2 separate regions of the Homo sapiens genome follow, and region 1 is linked to region 2. Evidence: promoter capture Hi-C in human tissues and cell types (Jung and others, 2019). All regions are on one chromosome and are shown on one strand. The core of a region is centred on a gene start or on the middle of the fragment in contact, and the rest is flanking DNA. Distances in the headings are between cores, read along the strand shown. Region 1 overlaps MTHFR (methylenetetrahydrofolate reductase). Region 2 holds the start of C1orf167 (chromosome 1 open reading frame 167).

Evidence for each region. Contacts are between HindIII fragments. The study calls those that stand out against the background at their distance.
Region 1: a fragment that was not itself captured here is called in contact with the fragment with the promoter of C1orf167 in region 2 in 3 of the 25 tissues and cell types used here (H1 embryonic stem cells, pancreas and spleen).

Annotation. Positions count from the first base shown.
Region 1 is chr1:11,795,626-11,799,707 of GRCh38, forward strand. MTHFR (methylenetetrahydrofolate reductase) reads right to left here. Exons shown (of 12, transcript NM_005957.5): 5 at 581-774. Among named protein-coding and RNA genes, the nearest start is that of MTHFR, 8.3 kb to the right of the region's middle. The HindIII fragment of the contact is 7,275 bases long and covers 1-4,082 here.
Region 2 is chr1:11,759,948-11,763,857 of GRCh38, forward strand. C1orf167 (chromosome 1 open reading frame 167) reads left to right here and starts at 2,246. Exons shown (of 21, transcript NM_001010881.2): 1 at 2,246-2,358. It also overlaps the pseudogene LOC101060126. The HindIII fragment of the contact is 8,265 bases long and covers 1-3,910 here.

The DNA.
Region 1 (4,082 bases), core at 296-2,795, 35 kb after region 2:
TGCCCAGCTTTCCCACTTTTTACAGAGTAGAGCAGCTGCCCTAAGCATTCCAGCCTTGGGTTGAGCCAGCCTTTTAGCCCTAGATGTGTCTGTTGGTAACATGGTGTCATCTAACCCAGCTGTTCCCATGCTGCACTGATCATCCGAATCACCTGCCAAGCTCAAGAAGTAAAACACACATTCCGAGGACCTCCCTCAGATTTACTGAGTGAGAACCTCCAGGGGTGGGACCTGGAGATCCACTTTTTGAAAAAGCTTATCAAGTGGTTCTGATGACAGCCACCTTTGGGAAACACTGATTTAAGCAGGATTTGTAATGAGAATTAGAATCCCTTTTGGTGATGCTTGTTGGCCAAAGTACAACAAACCCCTCAACAGACACTGTTGCTGGGTTTTGGGGGGAAAATTAGAGGTAACCAAAATGGGGTGGCCAAGCAACGCTGTGCAAGTTCTGGACCTGAGAGGAGATCTGGGAAGAACTCAGCGAACTCAGCACTCCACCCAGAGCCCCCAGCCTGTGCGAGGACGGTGCGGTGAGAGTGGGGTGGAGGGAGCTTATGGGCTCTCCTGGGCCCCTCACCTGGATGGGAAAGATCCCGGGGACGATGGGGCAAGTGATGCCCATGTCGGTGCATGCCTTCACAAAGCGGAAGAATGTGTCAGCCTCAAAGAAAAGCTGCGTGATGATGAAATCGGCTCCCGCAGACACCTTCTCCTTCAAGTGCTTCAGGTCAGCCTCAAAGCTCCCTGCTTCGGGGTGGCCTTTGGGGTAACCTGCCAATAGGGATGACAGTCAGGAGAGGCTGGCCTCCACCTGTTCAAGGCGAGGGATGAAGAGACCACAGGGACTGGGCAGAGAGAGTCCTCTGCTTTGGGGGCTCTGATCTTGCACCTTCCAACAGCACAGCACAGCCTGAACTAAAACAGTGAGTGGCTGGGCTCATGACTGATATGCTTCTGACCCCAGAGATGACTCTCAGGGGAGGTGGCTCAGAGCCCAGTTCCAAGAGTGGGGGTGGATTGCTCCAAACTCCCACACTGTCCTGCCTTGAGCAGCCAAGCAAATCAGGCCTGCACTTGGTGGCCATAGAAAAGAGAAAATGCTACAGTTAGCACTGGCTGGGCAGCATCTGGGGTAGTAAGCTTGACTTTTCTCTAGGCACCGGATTAAACATTGTTTTTAATGTAACACTGAAATTACTCAGGGGTCCAAGATAGTGAAAAGCTAAAAACCAAGTTACACAAGGAAGAACTGAAGAAAGTGATGTTTTCTTCAAAGAAAATAATGGATGGCAGGGTGCGGTGGCTCATGTCTGTAATCCCAGCACTTTGGGAGGCCAAGGCAGGAGGATGACCTGAGGTCAGGAGTTCGAGACCAGCCTGGCCAACATGGTAAAACCCCGTCTCTACCAAAAATACAAAAATTAGCCAGGTGTGGTGGTGTATGCCTGTAATAGCTACTCAGGAGGCTGAGTCAGGAAAATTGCTTGAACCCACGAGACAGAGGTTGCAGTGAGCCGAGATCGTACCATTGCACTCTAGCCTGGGCAACGAGAGCGAAACTCCGTCTCAAAAAAAAAAAAAAAAAAAAGAATGAAAAGAATACAGAAACTCCTTTCAAATGTCCAAAGGTCTGTCCTGGGGAAAAAGGATCCACCATAGGTGAGTTTGTTTTGTTTTGTTTCAGAGACAGGGTCTTGCTCTGTCACCCAGGCTAGAGTGCAGTGATACAATCATGGCTCACTGTAGCCTTGAACTCCCGGGCACAAGTGATCTCCCACTTCAGTCTCCTGAGTAGCTTGGACTACAGATGCAAGCCACCACATCTGGCTAATTAAAAAAAATTTTTTTAATTAATTATTTATTTTTTAGAGATGGGGTCTTGCTATCTTGTCCAGGTTTGTCTGGAACTTCTGGGCTCAAGCAATCCTCCCACCTTGGCCTCCCAAAGTGCTGAGATTACAGGCATGAGCCACTGTACCCAGCCCCCTAGTGAAGTTCTTTATTAGTCATATTCTGTGTTGTTTCTAATGGCAGAACCAGCATCCGGTTCAGAGAGCTGGCTAGAGTACTATAAGCCACTCACAAAACAATGAGCTCCTGGAGTCTGAAAACACAGGGGCAGTGGATGCTGAAGACAAGATTCCAGAATTGCTTAGGAGGTGGGATCAGATGTCCCATAGGCTCCTTACTGGCTCTGTGAACTCTCTGACCCCTTTCCTCAATGACTAAACTTACTAGCCGCCTTGCTCGGTCAGGCAAGCAGGATGACCATAGGCCTTCATGAAACTACATGGAGTGCTGGTTTCATCAGCCCAAGCCCAGGGCAGGACTCTGAGCCAGGCGGAAGGCCAAGCTGCTTTGCTCTGATAAGGCAGTTCCGTTCTTAAGAAACCCAGAGTCATCAAAAAATGAATATAAAAACTATTGTTTCAAGGGGTAAGGGAGTGGGGGATAAAGCAATGGGGCTTCACACTTGCAATAACAAAGCTATTTTCCCAGTAGGAATTTCAGAAACAACAAGGCTTTTTAATAGCTGAAAAGTATAGCTACAATACCTAAATATCACCGAACAAATCTAGCATTTGATTACGTATAGATTTTGCTATTTACTCTATTTTTCTATCATGAACAGCTGAGGGCTTTCTTTTTTAAAATGTTTTTATTTTTTGTAGAGACACGGTCTCACTGTGTTGCCCAGGCTGGTCTTGATCTCCTGCCTCAGTCTCCCAAAGCTCTGGGATTACAGGCATGAGCTACCATGCCCAACAGGTTGGTGTTTTCTAATCCACTCATCTTCATTACCCACTTGATAAGCAAAGTAAGAAACCATTCAGCAACTGTGAGCTCACAGCTTCACTAGTTTCCAATCATTATCACCTAACGCCCATCACGGGTGCATATTCCCCCAGTAACTGACTATATAATGGCTGATACAAGCGATGACAATTTAACAGTTGGAAATGTCTGTTCTCTGACTCCTAATCAGTGCTTCCCAGACTTAGCACCTAAACACCCCTGTTGACAGAATGGACATGTCCATCGGGGGTTAGGGACAAGGCCAAAGTTACTCACAACATGTAATTTTCTTGAAGCCACGTGGTTTGTTTTTTGGGTTTTTTGTTTTGTTTTTTTTGAGACGGAGTCTGGCTCTGTTGCCCAGGCTACAGTGCATTGGTGCGATCTCGGCTCACTGCAAGCTCCGCCTCCTGGGTTCAAGCGATTCTCCTGCCTCAGCCTACCAAGTAGCTGGGACTACAGGCACGCGCCACCATGCCCGGCTAATTTTTGTATTTTTAGTAGAGACGGGGTTTCACTATGTTGGACAGGATGGTCTCAAACTCCTGATCTCATGATCCACCCGCCTTGGCCTCCCAAAGTGCTGGGATTATAGGCTTCAGCCACCGCACCTGGCCTTTTTTTTTTAGTTCATATCACTTTAGATGCTACTCCATAACATAGCCATGTTTAATATAAAAATGGTAGGATTTCTCCCAGAATATTGGCAAAAAAACTGTCATCCCAGAAAATGTGCCAATCCCGGGACTTCCTGTCCCTGGTGCACACTGTCTTGCCATACCTGAGCGCTGTCTGAGACGCTGAGGGCTCAATGCCAGCCTTCAGCTTCAAGGGTGGGAGAGAAGTCCAACCCACCCATTTCTGTTGGGGGAACCTGGTCTTGTGGCTGTGGCCAATGGTGATTCTCTTTCCTGGGAATTTGGAACGGAGGCCTGTCCATTAGCCTGGGGAACTGGCTGGAACTGACACTCTGCACACTCAGGAGCAGGCCAGGTGTGTGGAAAAGCATGGGTATCAGGTCTCCCAGATGAAGCACAGATGTGCAGTGGGAAGCGGAGATGGGGGACCCTGTGGCCCCAGAGGGAATGAGGGAGGGCCTTGCTTTTTGACCTCTTCCAGTGCCTTGTGAGGTCTGAGGCCATCTCCTGATCTTGGGTTCCCTGCCCTCTGGAATCCTGTTAGTAAATATCCCTCTTTTGTGGGGTGTTGTTTTTTTTTTTTTTTTGAGATGGAGTCTTGCTCTGCCACTGAGGCTGGACTGCAGCGGCACCATCTCGGCTCAC
Region 2 (3,910 bases), core at 996-3,495:
GCCCAGGCTGGAGTGCAGTGACATGATCGTAGCTCACTGAAGCCTTGAACTCCTGGGCTCAAGCAATCTTACTGCCTCAGCCTCCCAAGTAGGTGGGACCACAGGTGTGCACCACCACAGCCGGATGATTTTTGTATTTTTTTTTGTAGTGATGAGGTCTTGCAATGTTGCCCAGGCTGGTCTTGAATTCCTGGGCTTATGAGAGCCTCCCACCTCAGCCTGCCCAAGTGCTGGGATTGCAGGTGTGAGCCACTGCGCCTGGCCAGCAGAAGGAGTTCATCACAGGTTTTCTGACTGAGTGCTCTTTCCTCTCCCAGCAGGTGCTTAGAAAGGAGAAAACATACAGTCTGGACAGAGGAAGGAGTGGGATGGCTGGGCACAGTGGGGAACAATGTGGGCAAAGGTTTGGGAGGTGGAAAGTGGACGGACCTTTGCAGCCTTGAAGGAAGTGTGATCGAGCTAGGCTGACGGCACGGCAAAGCTTGGGTATTAAGGTGGAGTCCAGCCAGTTTCTGAGGTGCCTGAAGGCTGGGAGAGTTTTTCTTTCTTTTTTTTCTTTTCTTTTCTTTCTTTTTTTCTTTTTTGAAACAGAATCTCACTCTGTCACCCAGGCTGGAGGGTAGTGGCATGATCACCACTCACTGCAACCTCCACCTCCCAGGTCCAAGCAATTCTCCTGCCTCAGCCTCCTGAATAGCTGGGATTACAGGTGCACACCATCACACCAGCTACTTTTTGTATTTTTAATAGAGATGGGATTTTGCCATGTTGGCCAGGCTGGTCTTGAACTCCTGACCTCAAGTGATCCGGCTGCCTCGGCCTCCCAAAGTGCTGGGATTACAGGCATGAGCCACCACATCCAGCCTTTTCTTTTCTTTTCTTTTTTTCTTTTTTTTTTTTTTTTTTTTTTGAGACAGAGTCTTGGTCTGTTGCTCAGGCTGGAGTGCAATGGCAGGATCTTGGCTCTCTGCAACCCTTGCCTCCCAGGTTCAAGTGATTCTCCTGCCTCAGCCTCCTGAGTAGCTGGGATTACAGGTGCCCGCCACCATGCCCGGCTAATTTTTGTATTTTTAGTAGAGACAGGGTTTCACCATGTTGGCCAGGCTGGTCTTGAACTCCTGATCTTGTGATCCGTCCACCTCAGCCTCCCAAAGTGCTGGGATTACAGGTGTGAGCCACTGTGCCTAGCCTTTCTTTCTTTCTTTCTTTTAACAAGAAATTTGTTATAGTTTTATTTTCCTTTGCATTTGCAAAATACTTAGGACCAACATGAAAAAGAAATACCTTCTATGGGGAAAAAAATGGCATTAAAAAGGAAGATGGGAAGGCTGAAAGGGATTTGTGCCTTAGTTGCAAGGAGCTGCAGCATCTCTGGTCCAAGGAATCAAAAAGATATTGGGAAGATATAACAGGAGGAAGAAGAATGTGAATTTACTGAGGGAGAGGGCCCCAAAGTGGGCCTTGAGGGGGAACTGGAGGCCCCGGAGTGGGTCTGGGTGGAGGGAGAGTCCCCCCCGGAAGCCATAGGGTGGGTGTTGGGGAGGGCCAGTGTATCCATGAGGCAGCATCGGTGGAGGAGGTCCACACATACCATGGAGGCATAGGACGTGAGTGACCCATGGGAGATCCAGACCGAGACCCCTTGGGGGACATGCTCATTGGAGGAGGTCCAGGATGAGGCATTCCAGGTGGTGATCAGGGTGGTGGCTGCCCCCCAGATCCTGGGGTCCCATCACGGGTGTGTCCTCAGCCATGAGGGCCATGGTTTGCCAGCTGCATCTGAGACATCCCTGGATGGGACATCGCACCTATTGGGAACGGGTGAGGATGTGAGTGTCCATGACCCGGATGTCCTGCCCCTGGGGTTCCTACCAGTGGGAGCCGGGGGCATGTCCTGCAGCCCCAAGAGGCATAGGTGGTGGGGACATGGCTGGGGGTATCCCAGATGTGCGGGGGCTCCAGGAGGCAGCTCTAGGTGCGGGAAGGAGCCAAGAGGAGGCACGCCTGGTGGAGGAAGCCCAGACCCCAGTGATGCTGCCACAGGATTCGGGGCAGAGGGTGGAGGAGGTTCCCGGGGACCTGATGGCCAAGAGAATGTCGCTCATCTTGCACGTGCAAAAGTTGCCCTGGGACCACGTGCCTTGCCTGCGGAGGACCCGGCAAAACCTGTACCAGGACGTCGGTGGCCACGCCCACGGCTCAGGGCTGGGCGGGGCCAAGCGCGGGGCAGCACGCTCTGCTCTCCGACGTCCCCTCCCGCCCGCGACCTGCCGACCTGCGGGGATCGTTAGCGGTCCCAGCCCCCGTCTAGATTCAAATCCGACTGGGTGAAGGAGGACCCGAGGAGGACCCACGCACGTGAGGGCAGATCCATGAGGGCAGGAAACTGACCTCAGACTCTTTTGGTGGCAAGAGGAGGGAGGCTGTGAGCCCCCTTAAGTGGACAGGGGTGGGGGTGGAGTGGGAGGGGGGAGTCTGAGGGAGACGGACGAGGAGCGGAGAAATGGACCGAAGAGCTCCGGCGTGAGGGGCAGGGGTGCAGGAAGGTCTCCTGTGGATTGAGCGGCCTCAAGTCAACTTGGGCAAGAGGGGATGGTGGGGTGTTCTTGGTTAGGAGTCTGCGCTGTGGAGCCAGCCCTGGGGTGCTCCCTCTGAGGCCTTGGGTGGGACAGGCCCTTCTAAGCTCCTGTCCTCATTTCTAAAACAGGGAACCTAAGTCCCAGGGCTGCAGTGCAGATTAAATGGCAGGACGCCTGCTGAAGGCTGCAAGGTGCCTAGCACGGTTGTCATTTATTCAATGTGCATTTACAAGCCCCTGCTGGGGGTCAGGCATTGTTCTATGGGCTGCAAATCCAGCAGGGAAACAAACAAACAAAAAAAACCAGCCTGCCCTCGTGTGGCTCCTAGGCCACTGGAGGGAGAAATACACTAATTTCTTCACTATGTTAGGTGGCCGCAAGTGCAGGGCAAAGAGAGTGAGGAGAGGCCAGGTTGCTGCAGTTGGAGAGACAGTGGGCAGGGAGGGCTCACTGTGATGTGGGAGGCAAGACTTGAAGGCAGAGGGGACAGCAGCACAGAGGCGCTGAGGTGAGGTCGTGTGTGCCATTTGGAGGAGCAGCCAGGGGGCTGGTGTGTGTGGAGGACAGTGGGCAAGGGGAAGAGGAATTGGGGAGGACCATAACTGGCAGCCAGATTTTAAAGACTTTGCGGGGCTGGGTGTGGTGGCTCACGCCTGTAATCCCAGCACTTTGGGAGGCCGAGGCGGGCCAATCACCTGAGGTCAGGAGTTCGAGACCATCCTGGCCATCATGGTGAAACCCTGTCTCTACCAAAAAATAGAAAAATTAGTCTGGCGTGGTGGCATGTGCCTGTGGTTCCAGCTTGTTAGAGGCTGAGGTGGGAGGATCCCTTGAGCCCAGGGAGGCAGGCGGAGGTTGCAGTGAGCCGGGATCACGCCATTGTACCAGCCTGGGTGGCAAAGTGAGACTCCGGCTCAAAAAAAAAAAAAAAAAGGTTTTGCAGCCTAAGGTATCTTGCAGCTATTGAGCTCTGCTATTGCAGCTGGAAAGCAGACAGTCTGTAAACAAATGGGCTTTGTTTCAATATAACTTTATTCACATAATAGACCACTGGCCCAGGCAGTAATTTGCTAACCTCTGGCCTACAGCCTTGAAGGCTCACGGGGCATTGAGGGGGCTGGAGAGCTTCTGTGGCATTAGAGTTGAGGCAGGGCATGATTTGATTTCAGTGTTTACAGGATCACCCTGCCGCCGCATGAAGAGGAGGCTGTCGGGCGTGAGGACGAGGCAGAATAAGGGTGACCAGTTGGGAGGTGGCAGGTGAGGGCCACTCCGCCCAGTGCTCCAGGGGTCAGATCCTGGATGCGTGTGGGAGGCAGAGCCTGTCAGAG